2 separate regions of the Homo sapiens genome follow, and region 2 is linked to region 1. The links are contacts of gene promoters, found by promoter capture Hi-C in blood cells and fetal thymus (Javierre and others, 2016). All regions are on one chromosome and are shown on one strand. Each heading gives the region's core, a stretch centred on a gene start or on the middle of the fragment in contact. The rest is flanking DNA. Distances are from core to core; before and after follow the strand shown.

The links. The method cuts DNA at HindIII sites, captures the fragments that hold promoters and counts their contacts. A CHiCAGO score of 5 or more calls a contact.
Region 2: a contact is called between a fragment that was not itself captured here and the fragment with the promoter of CD58 in region 1, in 5 of 17 cell types (M2 macrophages, megakaryocytes, activated CD4 T cells and 2 more). The highest score is 8.2, in M2 macrophages.

What each region holds. Positions count from the first base shown.
Region 1 is chr1:116,567,065-116,573,706 of GRCh38, forward strand. It overlaps CD58 (CD58 molecule), which reads right to left and starts at 3,962. Exons shown (of 6, transcript NM_001779.3): 1 at 3,839-3,962. The coding sequence starts at 3,908. LOC124904385 (a long non-coding RNA gene) reads left to right here and starts at 3,911. Exons shown (of 2, transcript XR_007066497.1): 1 at 3,911-3,989. RefSeq lists an enhancer at 3,034-3,093 and silencers at 3,564-3,633, 3,704-4,163. The HindIII fragment of the contact is 6,609 bases long and covers 1-6,200 here.
Region 2 is chr1:116,824,571-116,831,212 of GRCh38, forward strand. No RefSeq gene overlaps it. Among named protein-coding and RNA genes, the nearest start is that of CD2, 73 kb to the left of the region's middle. RefSeq lists an enhancer at 2,822-3,011. The HindIII fragment of the contact is 2,060 bases long and covers 2,498-4,557 here.

The sequences.
Region 1 (6,642 bases), core at 2,712-5,211:
GGGAGATCAAGGCTGCAGTGAGCCATAATTGTGTCACTATACTCTAGCCTGGGCAACAGAGTGAGACTGTGTCTCAAAAGAAAAGAGAAAAGGCAATGAAACAAAGAAGGAAAGAAGGGAAGGGAAGGGAAGGGAAGGGAAGGGACAGGAAGGGAGGGGGAGGGGAGGGAAAGGGAGGGGAGGGGAGGGAGGGAGGGGAGGGGAGAGAGGAAGGATGGAAGGAAGGGAGGGAGGGAGAAGAAAGGGACAAGGGTGGGGGAAGAAAATTACCATTTGAAAATATTTTAGTGGCTGGATGTGGTGGTTCATGCCTGTAATCCCAACACTTCGGTAGGCCAAGGAGGGAGGATCACTTGAGCCCAGGAGTTTAAGACCAGTCTGGGCAACATAGGGAAACCCTGTTTCTACAAAAACTAAAAAAAAATTAGCCAAGCATGGTGGCATGCACCTGTAGTCCTGGCTACTCAGAAGGCTGAGGTGGCAGAATTGCTTGAGCCTCAGAGGTCGAGGCTGGAGTTAGCTGTGATAGCACCCCTGTACTCCAGCCTGGGTGACACAGTGAGACCCTGTCTCAAAAAATAAAATAAAATATTTTAGTGATAATGGATTCTGGGAAGAATCACCATAGGATACTAAAACCACTGAATGAACAATGGCTGGAGAACAGGATATTCACTCAACCTCAAAACATCACTTAACACATCATTTATTACTTACAAAGGTAAAATGGTGCCTCTACAATGGAGAAATCTGGTAAACTTCACTTTAACCAAATGTCAAAGTTAACATCTCCAATAATGTGACAAACAGACCACATCTTCCTGATGTGACACACTGAGAAGGACCCAACATAGCTATGAAGTATTCCTGCTACAAAGAGTTACAACCAGAATCTGATCATGAGGAAACAAGCAGGCAATCCACATCCAAAGGGACATTCGGTAAAGCAACTAGCCCAGACACTTCAAAAATGATGATGTCTTAAAGTACCAAAAAAAAAAAAAAAAAAAAGCAACAGTTTTAGGTTAAAGGGGGTTAAAAAGGCATGATTATCAAATGAAGTATGTGGTGCAGGACTGGCTTCTGGGTTCTCTACCAGGAAACAGTATTGTATCAATGCCACATTTCCAGATTATGATGATTCTGTGACTTGTTGGAGAATGCTCTTGTTCTTATGAGACATATGATAAAGAATTACAGGTGAGGTGTCATGAGATCTGAAACTCTCAAATGGTTTGGCAAAAATAACAGATGGCAAAAATAACAAAGAAAACTAATGTGACAGTTAACTGGTGATTCAAGGAGAAAGTACGCAAATGTTCACTGTACTAATTTTGCAACTGTCCTAAAGATTTTAATTGTTCTAAAATTTCAAAAAAAACCCTAAACTGAAGTATTAACGACTTCCATCACCCCTTTCTTTGCTTTACTCATCTCTGTACTAGTAAATGTTTACTTTATCACCATCCAGCATCCATGTTTTTACTCATTTACTTACTGTCTCTCTCCCTCACTATAAGGTGAGCTTCACAAAGGCAGGGAACTGTGCATAGCTTGCTGTATCCCCCGTCCATTGTGCAGTGCTTAACATATAATTGACACTCAGTAAATATTTATTGCATGACTGATGTTCCCAGTAATTCTATGAAGTGGGTTTATTATTCTCCTTTCCCTCATGTGAGTGGTACTCTCTTCAAAAGTGAAGGTACTGAAGTGAAGAGAAGTTAGGGAACTCACACAAGTTCATGACTCAGGTGAGGAGTGGGGCCAGGATCCAAAGCTAGGCATCTGACCCCAGAGCTGATGCTGTTAATCACTGCATTTGCAGCTTCCCTAATGAGGCAGGCTTGGGTCCCCAAAAGGGGATATACCCATTCAGTCTTGTCTTTAGTTTAAGGCCTATGCAGAGCAGTTTATAAATACATGTTTGCTGAATCAAATGACTTCTGAATGAATACATGAATTAGGTGAGAGAGATCACCAGGAAGGGACAGTTCAAATAATCTGTTGGAGGTGGAGCTTGGGCAAACTGGGTTTGCAGTGGAAGGGAGAACACAGGTACAGGCAGCAGTGACCCAAGGTGCCAGGGAATGAGGGACCAGCTTGCCTGGAGGAGAGTTACCCCATCCATTCAATTAATCCCTGTTTGTATCTCTTCTTTTCCCCAGCCACCCGCACATGAACTCCCCAGAGCTATTTGGGCCCTGTGATGGTAGTCCACCCTGGCCTTCTGGCCTCCCTGCCTCCAATTCCTCCTGACTGCAGCCTTCCTCTTTGTTGCTAACAGATTCTTCTTCCCAGGCGCATGGTCCTGATCCTGTAAGGCCCAGGAGAAGCTCTCTCAGCTCAGAGAATCCAGACTCCCTAAGGGGACACTCAGCAATCTTTTCCCACATTATCACATGTCCACACATCACCAGTCCTTGAAGGCTGGGCTCAAATATCCTCCCTCCCATGAAGACTGCTTCACAAAAGACACTTGATTTCACAAAAGAGACTGCCTTCTTCTTCCCTCTGTACCCTCACAGCTCACCTTTTTTTTTTTTTTTTTTTTTTGAGACAGGTCATATTCTGTCACCCAGGCTGGAGTTCAGTGGCACAATCACAGCTCACTGCATCCTCTGCCTCCGGGACTCAGGTGATTCTCCCACCTCAGCCTTCCGAGTAGCTGGGACTATAGGTATGCGCCACCACGCTCAGCTAATTTTTGTATTTTTTGTAGAGCCGATCTTTCACCGTGTTGGCCCTGCTGGTCTCCGATTCCTGGCCTCAAGTGATCCACCTGCCTCAGCCTCCCAAAGTGCTAGGATGACAGGTGTAAGCCACCACGCCCAGCCCAGGCCTCTTACAACACTGACTTATCTGATCGTGCGGGTACTTTTGAGTCTATCTCAACCCCTCCCCCTTGGCTGTCTTCCATAGATGCACACGCGCACCTCCCGGGCAGGCAGCGGACGCTGAGCAAACGGACGGACGGGCTGGAGGGCTGGCAGTGGGGTGCAGGAGCCAGCCATGAGAACCCCTCAAGTACAGTTGAACTCGCTGGGAGGTTACTGCTGTACTCCCGGGGTTTTGCTATGGCCTGACTGGGGCCAATGTGTGGAGGGTGAAGGAGGATGGGGAGGCAAAATGGGAAGAAGGGGACCTATTTCCTGAGGTTGTTGTGACGACTTGGCTGACAACACACGGAGAGGATGGAACCAGTTCTGATACTAGTTTTTAGGATTTGAGGGGAGGAAAAAGGAGCAGGAGTCGCACCACTTAGGAATCCCAACGTGAGGCCGCTGCCGACTGGGCTTCCTAGTTGCCTACCCGCTCCTCGCTGTGGGGCGATTCTGAAAAGTCCTCTCTGCTGATACGGCGGACGCCGCGCGGGCGGGGACGGCACCGCGCGGGGAGGGCAGCAGGCGTCGCCCTCGAGCAGGTGGCATCCGCGCCCGCTCCCCGTCCCGGGCGCGTTCACGGCTGGGAAAAATTTTGCAGTCCGCTGAAGCGCTCAGCGACGTTACTGGGGAAGCCCAGGAAGGAACTTGGTCACTGGAGCTCGGGAGGGGGCCGGCGGGGGGGCGCAGGCCCCGCAGGAGAGGCTAGCGGGCCGGAGCCCGTCCTTCCCTAAGGCCACACAGTTCCTTGCTGACTCCATGAGGGACACTGGCGATGAAATAACAACTTTCTCTTCCTGAAAAGGCTCCCACGGCTGAGTTGTTCCCGGCCCACAGCGACCCGTCCCCACCCGTCTCTGATCGGCAACCGCCTCGAGCCCGGCGCGTCCACCCAGCCTGGGTGCTGCCCAGTACCCGCCGGCCGGCGCGGGGCCCCTGGGGCAGGCTTCACTCACCAAAGCAGTGCAGCAGGCAGACCACGCTGAGGACCCCCAGGGCCCGCCCCGCGTCGCTCCCAGCAACCATGGCTCGTCGGGCCGGCCTCTGCGCGAGTGCCCAGCCACAAGCAGCCCTAAGTTCAAGCACCGCCTACGCGGTCGGCCAGAAGTAGGGCTCCGCCCCGCCCTGGGCTGGCAGCCGGCGGCCCGCCCCGGCCCTTCCTCCCCCACCCTCCGCGGCGCCGCGTTTGTCTTCGCGCTTCCACTCCCCGGGCGCGCCTCTGGCCTCGGCTCTGCGCGCCTCCTTCCTGTGTCCCCGGGGCGCCGTCCAGTCCCCCAGCTCGGTCCCTCCCGTCATTCCGCCGCCATTCCATACGCTATTTTTAAGTAAGAAATTCTTTCCTTGAAAATGGCTTGGTTTTAAAAACCAAGGTTTTAAAGTAAGAAATTCTTTCCTTGAAAATGGCTTGGTTTTAAAAACCAGGTTTCTCTGCCTTCCTACCGCACCTCCCGCGCTTCCCCTTAGCGTTTGGGGCGTGCTGTAGGCCCCTCCGTGGCTAGACGGGGCTGTGGCTCCCAGAGAGCCACCGGAGGAGGCAGCAGGACGGGCGGGAGCACCCGGGGCCCCTCATCCCTTCAGCGCTGTGTGATCCCGCATCAGACGGCCTCTTTGAACCACTTTTCCTCAAACATGACAAGGAAAGGGAGCATTTTAGACAACTGTTAGGCGTAGGGTTACCTGAGGCAGGCCTCCCCCGTCCCCATACTCCCTTATCCCCGGAGCTGGGATTTCCAGCCTTTGGTTTCTCCCTTCTCAGATTCCTCTTTTTCTGTCTTCCCCCATCTCAACCGGGACTTTCCCTCAGGCTGAGATGTCAGATCCACATCTCCCTCACTGCCCAGCCTCCCCACATCCATCCAGCCCAAGCTGAGGCAGGCACTCATCACTCTCCCCGCTCTTCATCAGTCTGGATTGAGCTGGCCCTCCCCTCACATCCCTATATCCCAGAACAAATGACCCTATTCCCAGAACCAGCTCCTCACATCAGCCTCCCTGTCTGTCCCCTTTCTTGCAGACAGAAGCACCAGAGTTGCCCCTGCCCAGCTGAGGGAGTTCACAGAACTCTTAGTTATTATGTGAGCAGGAATCCATTTCCATGAACAGGACTCCCTGCTGCCCAAATAACCACCAACACATACATGGTGCAGGTTGTGAAACTGAGTGGGAATGTGCTTTCTTGCTGCTTCACCTCCATTATCCCCAGGTGGGGACTCGAAGTCACTCAAGACACTTGAACCATATTGCAAAGAGACATGAATTATTTCTTAAGTTAGCCATAAAATCTTAAAAGGTATCTCTATCAGTGAAACTTCTGGGACCAATGCCCTCTACCACAAACCTGCTATCTCGAGATATTCCCTACCATCTGTAGATACTGGGAACACAAGGCAGGGGCAGTGTGTAACATAAAATATGAGGAAATCAAGTGTTCTCTGCCCTGGGCTGGTAGGAACTCAGGCCAACTTAGAAAGGCAGGATGGGGTTAGACCTTCAGACACTGGGGAGCCACAGAAAGTTTTTGAGCTGGGAAGTGATATGACAGCAAACATCTATTGAGCAGGCCCTGTGTGAAGTGCATTGCTTGGATTAACTTAGTCTTACTGCTGCTGTTGTTTTTGCAAATGAGGAAACTGATGCCTGGGGAAGGTAAATTACTCAGGGCACACAGTAAAGGGCAGAACTTGGAGTCCAGCTGAGGCCATGTCCAATGCCTCTACTCTTATCCCTTCATACAGGAACGGGATATGATAATGGGACTTTTGGACTGACAGCTATGCAGCCATTTGGACTGCCAGCAAGAGCTGTTAAGCCCCTTAAGAGCAGGGCTGAGGAAAGAACAGCCCAGTCACATGGGGCTGGGGAAGCCCCTCACCCCCAGGTCATGGTCTCCAGGTATTGGGTGAGGAATAACTCATTAGGCTTCCTTGGTTGGACTCTCCTTTGACCAAGGAGCAGTGCCTGCTCTTTCATTGAGAGAAATGCTGTCCATCAAGCACTTTTAGAAGCCCTCAAATGCCTGGTTAATTTTATGAATCAAAAGCAGCTCAGGAATGCTGGACCTGCAATGCGTTAAGCAGGCAGCCAAAAAGATTCCCTTTACATACTGAGAACCTGCTATCAAAAGGAGGGGTGGATGTATTTTTCATGCTGTGACTAGTATTGCAAGGTCCAGTTTTATCTTCTTGTCACTGTAGATAATCATGGATGAGAAAGTAAGAAAAGAGGGCAGCTGAAGAGGCCGGGGCTGTTCTTCCTAGCATGCCACTCTCTGGTGTCTTGACTCTCGTTTCTGCCAAACCTTTGGAACTACTCCCACAAAGCTTAGGAATCCCAGAATGTAGTGAGCAAAACACTGCTCAATCCTGCATAAATGCAAATTGTCATTTTCATTGCATGCCTCATGAGGGAACATACATTCATTTATATAAATACTGGTTGGATTTGCACGAAGGACATAGAAGGGTAATCTTATTCCATAATACTCTATTTCCCTTTTTAAAACATACCCTGGCAGAAAAAGAACATTAGAAAAAAATTAGGAAAAATTATACATAAGACTTAACATGGAACCATTATGGGTACCCAAGGGAGAGGCAGTCACATTTTCAACTCCTGGCCAAGCCAGCAGCTGCAAGGAGTTGATAAGGATGCAGCCAATGGTTCTGGGAGCAGAGGAAAGCACACACGAAAGCTTTTGAAAGTCTTGGATTTAGAAAAAGAAGAAAAAAAGAAGTGTCTCCCTCTGCTTCTTACTATCTAG
Region 2 (6,642 bases), core at 2,278-4,777, 260 kb after region 1:
TCGGTATGACTCTAAGTAAAATCAGTGAATGTTAGAGAGTGAGTTGTGTTTATTTTCTTTATATAAAAGAAAAAGTTGCTAACAATTTGAGCTGCCCAAAATTAGAATGGCTGCATTGTGAGGAACTGCACTCCTGTTTGTGGAAGTGCTTATGTTGAAGCCGGATGGCCACCTGTCAAGGATGTGAAAGATGGGATTCCTGAAGGATCCCGGAAGTCTCTCCTGACTGTGAGTCAACATTCTGTGAAATGGAGGCTGAGGTGTGGGAAGAAGACACCTGCTGAGGGAAGGGGGTTTGGCCAAGAACCTTGCCCTTGTGGAAGGGGATTCAGGGAGACAAAGGCCTCTAGAGAAAGAGAGGTCTCCTCCCAGGGAGAGCTGTCCTCCTGCCCATGGAGATGTTCTTCCAAGCACAATTCCCACACTGGAAACAGCACAAAGAGAAATCTGGGACACAGACATGAGCACTGAGAAGCACAGGCCTCCAACCGGCCTTCCTGTTCTCCGTAGTCCCCTCAATCAGGGGACAGGAAAGTGGCACTCTCAATTCCCTAGAGGTCTTTTATATTCCCTTTCCTGGGTTCAAATTCCATCCTTGCCTCCGATTGGCTAACAATTACCTCATTGTCTTTTCACTTGCTTAGAAAATCACATCTGCCTTCTCCACCCCCTTTCCTCCTTTCCCAATGCCTCTTACTCCAAAATGACAGCATCTTCCCCTTGTTGTGTATTCCTGCCCTCAAGTTCACAACTCCCCATTGTCTTCGACCTGATGTCCCAGGGCTTTCAGCTTCTCTTTCCTGACTGCATTAGCCATGCAGATTTATGCAGTGCTTCTCTCAGTCCTCAGCCATCTTCCCTGCTATGTTAATATTCAATGTTTTCCTTTCCCTCAACTCTGTTTTTAGCAGATCTTATTCCAAACTGCCTCAGAGCCACTCCCAGCTCGGTGGGGGCAGCTGGGTGTGGTGAGCACAGGACACTCCTTTGGACAGATGGACGGGCGGAGGGGCAGGAAAACACCCCCAGCCCCGGCTCAGCTGCTGAGTGATTTAGCCAAGAGTAGGAGGGGAGGAATGAGACAGCTCCACCAGCCCAGGCTAAAAACAGACCTGGCCTCCTCCAAATGTTCCACAGATTAGGACCCTCTTCCTCCCTTCTCCATTCCTACCGTCTCTCCAAACCTCAAATCCTGCAGCCACTGTGTAGCTTCTTTCCCCGTCAAGGCCACTCAGGATGTTGATCTTAATTTGATTTTGACAGACACAAAGAAGAGGAGGGGGACGGAGTCCACAGTGTGATCTGTCCTCCCCTCTTCTCCCACCTCTCAGGGTGGCCAGGGCCCAGCCAGCAGGACCTACAGCTTTGGTATAATTTACAGCCTGAGACTCAGAAGATGGGAACACAGCCAAGGCCATAAACTCTGTTCCGAGTGCTGTGTGACAGTTTATGGTAAAGGGCAGATGGGACTTGCTGGCTCCAGGCCTGCCCCTTCATTACAGAGCACCCTTCTGCCGCTCCTGTCACCAGCAGGCGGTGGTGACGTGCTGAATGGCAAATGGGAAGCAGACCTGGGTCCTCAAACTTGGTTCCTGTGTCCTGGGATCCCCACACACCCTGGCCATCACATACCCAGATCCCAACACACCTAGCTCCCCGCACACTTAGCTCCCCACACACCCTGGCCCTCACACACCCCATATACCCAGGTCCCTACACATCCTGGTCCTCACACACCCCACACACCCAGGTCCCTACACACCCTGGCCTTCACACACCAAGGCCCTCACACACGCAGATCCTCACACACCCAGGTCATCGCACACCCAGGCCCTTGCACACCCTGGTCCTCTCAGACCCTGGTCCTCGAACACCCAGGTCCTTGCATCTTCTGGTCCTCCTATGTGGGCCTGTGAGGCACACGCACAGAGAATAGAGTGTCACAGAGTAGGCACATTAACCCATAGCAAAGGTGGGCCGTCAGGAAGGGGTGGAGGTGCTTCCCTGACTCCCATTCTGTCTACTGAGAAATGGTATGCAAATGAACTTCAGGAGCAGCTTTGAGGGAAAAGGACCACAAAATAAGTCACTTGAAGAGGGTATGAAGAGGAAGAGGGGCAGGCACTTGTTTATGCAAGTATAATCCAAATGTAAGGTCTGTACCAGCATTTGTCTAAACAACTCTGTCACTGTCTTATTTTAAAACAAGGGATGGAACCTATCCTAGCCTCCTTTGACTACAGGAAACTTGTTTTTCCCTCACATTTCACCCCATGTATTTCTGAGGTAACTCCCATCCCTCGAAGTCTTCCCTGGTTGGCCCAGCCCCCTTGGCCGGGCCCTGTCTCCAGCCACAGCTTACTCCACTGCAGTCCTTCAACCACACTTGGGAGCAGCTTTCTTCTGACTCTCTCAAGCTGGCCACAGGTCCTTCCCTCCATTCCCCACCATGACAGCAAAAACCAAACTGTTAATCTTTAACAAGATTCGTACCTAAAGCTTAGGTTAAGGGTATTACAACACAGCCACAAAAATAGCATAAACCTTCATGTCAGAGAGAGGAGAAGACAGAATCTGCAATCCTCGCCTGCTTATAGAATGCCATCCTGTCCACCTCCCAGCCTGTTCACTCAGGAAGAAGCCAACCTTTCTCTCCCCATGTCTGAGCTCTGCAATCACTTACAGCCTACGTAGAGCCTCTCACCCCAGCACCCCTGCACAAAGCCCTGAGCTCCACTTCTTAAGGCTCATGGAAAGGAAACTGCAACTCTTCTTGTCCCTCTTAGGCCTCATTTCCTGTCTCAGGCATTATCTCTTCCAAGGGTGATTGACAGTGGGATGGTTCACTCACTTCAGAACCACGAGGATGACTCATCCAACGTCCTGGCCTCTGGTTTCCTCCATCTGTTCACCTCCAGCAACCTTTTCCTTCACTTCGTCTCAGCCACCGATACCTGTAATCAGCTTAGACTTTGTCATCACCAAGAAGAACACCAGCTCTGAAATTTCCCTCTCAGAAATCCCCACTAGACCATGAAAAGACATGGAGGGACTGTAAATGAAAGAAGCCAACCTGAAAAGGCTACATGCTGTATAATTCCAACTAAATGGCACTGGAAGAGACAAAACTATGGAGATTAAAAGGAAAGGTGTTTGCCAGAGGTTTGGGAGAAGGGAGGGATGAAGAGGTTGAGTATAAAGTATTTTTAGGGCAGTGAAACGATATTGTGTGATACCCTACTGGAGTATACATGTCATTATACCTTTGTCAGGACCCACAGAATATACAACACCAAGGGTGAACCCTAATGTGAACTATGGACTTTGGGTGTGTCTTACCTGGGCTGGGTAATTTACAAAGAGGTTTATTTGGCTCAGAGCTCTGTAGGCTGTACAGGAAGCATGGCGCCAACATCTGCTTATAATGAGGGCCTCAGGCTGCTTCCACTCATGGTAGAAGGCAAAGGGGAGCCAGCTCATGCAGAGATTATATGGCAAGAAAGAAAGATGAGTTGCCATCTCTCATTTTTAGCAACCAGCTCTCACTAGAACTAATAAAGCAAGAACTTACTTATTTCCATGAGGACGGCACCACAGCCTTCATGAGGGATTCACCCATGATCCAAACACCTCCCACTAGGCCCCACCTCCAGCATTGGGGATCAGATTTCAGCATGAGATGTGGAGGGGACAAATGTCCAACCTGTATCAAGGTGATAATGATGTGTCAATGGAGGTTCATCTGGAGGTTCTTCACTTGTAACAAATGTACCACTCTGGTGGGGTGTGTTGATAGCAGGGTTGGTTGTGCACATATGAGGGCAGAGGGTATATGGGAAAGCTCTGTACTTTCTGTTCAGTTTTGCTGTGGATCTAAAACTCTAAAAAACAAAGTAGACTTTAAAAAAAATCTCAACTAATTTCCTGTCCTTCTCTTCCACTTGCTCTAGTGCCCTTTTGGCTGTGACTCTTTAATTACATTGAGACACATCATGTGTCACTCTTTAGCAGGCCTCTTGTCTTCACTGCATTCCTGATCCGACTTACAGCCCAAAGCCCACCCTGATAAACACTACCTCACAAATACCCTCCATTTCCTCATCCTTTCTCTTTTGGCAAAAACCTCTCTCTGACAACCTCAATAACTGTTTTTCCTTGCCTGTATCCAATGTGCCTAAATAAAATATTTCTTTTTTTTTTTTTTGAGACAGAGTCTCACTCTGTCACCCAGGCTGGAGTGCGGTGGCGCGATCTCAGCTCACGGCAATCTCTGCCTCCGGGTTCAAGCGATTCTCCTGTCTCCCAAGTAGCTGGGATTACAGGCGCACACCACGACACCCAGCTAATTTTTTTGTATTTTTAGTAGAGACAGGGTTTCACCATGTTGGTCAGGCTGGTCTCGAACTCCTGTTCCGCTCACCTCGGCCCCCCAAAGTGCTGGGATTACAGGCGTGAGCCACCGCACCTGGCCAGATAAAATATTTCTAAAGAAAATCTTATGCCAGGCTGACCCTCACACTTTGAATTCATGACCAGAAGCCTGACCAGAGTGCTCAAAGCTTCCCTCAACACTGACCGTTTCCCACTCTCTGGAGTAACTAACTCATATCTTCTTGTTCTTACTTTAGACTTTCTACATTTTCTGCCACTGCACCCTCTTCAGCAGGTGAACTCACCTCTTACTACATGGAAAAAATAGAAGGTTTCAAATAGGAATGGTCTCATCTTCCCATCACCAAATCTAGAATCCAGCCTGCATTCCCACGTACCTCCTCTTCTTCAGGCCAGGTAAGTAGGTCGAAGTGTCCTTGCCATAATCAAAGCCTCACCCTTGGTTTGAAGTGTAGACCTCAGTCTTTTTTGCTCCTCCTTGTGGACATGGCCCCTGCAGAGATCCGTGATACCTCCTGCATCACCAAGCTCTTGCTTTACTGGGTCATTTGCATCACTTTACAAACATACTCATCTTTAAGAAGAAAAAAGACATGAAAAGAGATGTTCAACATCATTAATCATTAGAGAAATGATTAGTGGCACGATCTTGGCTCACTACAACCTCCACCTCCTGGGTTCAAGCAATTCTCCTGCCTCAGCCTCCCAAGTAGCTGGGATTACAGGCACCCGCCACCATGCCCAACTAATTTTTTATATTTTTAGTAGACAGGAGGTTTCACCATGTTGGCCAGGCTGGTCTCGAACTCCTGATCTCAAGTGATCCGCCTGCCTTAGCCTCCCAAAGTGCTAGGATTACAGGCGTGAGCCACCATGCCTGGCCTTCCTTCCCTTCATTTCTAATTTCAACTCTTCTTTCTCTCCCTTCCACATAGACACCCATTCAAATATGTTTTGCCTGAGTCCTTGAATGTGCATTATTTCTGAAAAAAAAAGGTGCTGTATTGCTATGTTTCTAATGTACATAAATAGTACAGTGCTATACTATACAAATAGTATACTCTCTATACAAATAGTATAGCACTATACTATTGTGCTATACTACTATTTGTGTAGTACAGCACCAGCCTCAGAGACAGAGAGCACAGTGGTCAGAGTGTAGGCTGGAATCCCAGCTCTGCCACTTACTCACTGGGTGACTTTAAGTAAGCTGCTTAATGCTCAGTGTTTCCATTCCATGTTTGTAAAATAAGGATTTATTCAACAAACATTCACAAATATTTATTGAGAGCCTTCTATGTGCCAGCCATATAGACTGGGTAATTTATAAATAATGGAAATTTATTTCTCAGAGTACTGGAAGCTGGGAATCCAAGATCAAAATGCCAGCAGATTCTAAGTCTGGTGAGGGTGCACTCTCTGCTTCATAAATGGGTCTCTTGCCGCAAAAAAATCTGTTTGCTCCTCCAGATTCATCAAACATCTCCTGGCTATGAGGAGTCCCTTGGGAATTCAGAGACAGAAAAAGAGTGAGCTAGTTGCTCCCTGAGAGCAGTTGCCTTGGATTGGCTCTTTTCTTCACAGAAGGTCAGTGCTTCTCGAATGGTGGCCAACTCTATGAAATTCTATCTCCATCTTTTTGGCCTAAGGATAGTGACAGACTTACTGCTGCTAGTCTTGAGTTTTTGCACCATCTCTACTATTTCTCTTCACATGCTCACACCTATCTTAACCCTTCTCTCTCTCTCTCTCTCTGTCTCTCTCCCTTTCTCTCTCTCTCTCTCTCTCACACACACACACACACACACACACACACACACACACACAGTTATCCTGAGTTGAATGTATCATATTTTTCTGCTGGGACTCTGACTGATACATTGACTAATCTCATTTACTGAAAAGTTAAATGCAAATTAAAACCACAACGAAGTATAACTTAATTCTCACCAGAATGGCTAAAGTAAAAAAGACTGATAAAACTGAGTGTTGGCAAGGTTATGGAAAAACAGGGACTCTCATACACTGTTGGCAAAGTGTAAACTGGCACAACTACTTTGGAAAACAGACTGACTTTATCTGGAAATGTGAACATGAGCTCAGCAATCTTACTTCTACATCCATATCCTAGGGCGTGGTTCTCAAACTTTCACCTGCCATTAGCACACCCAGTGGGCTTGTTAAAACACAGATTGTGGCCGGGCGCGGTGGCTCACGCCTGTAATCCCAGCACTTTGGGAGGCCGAGGCG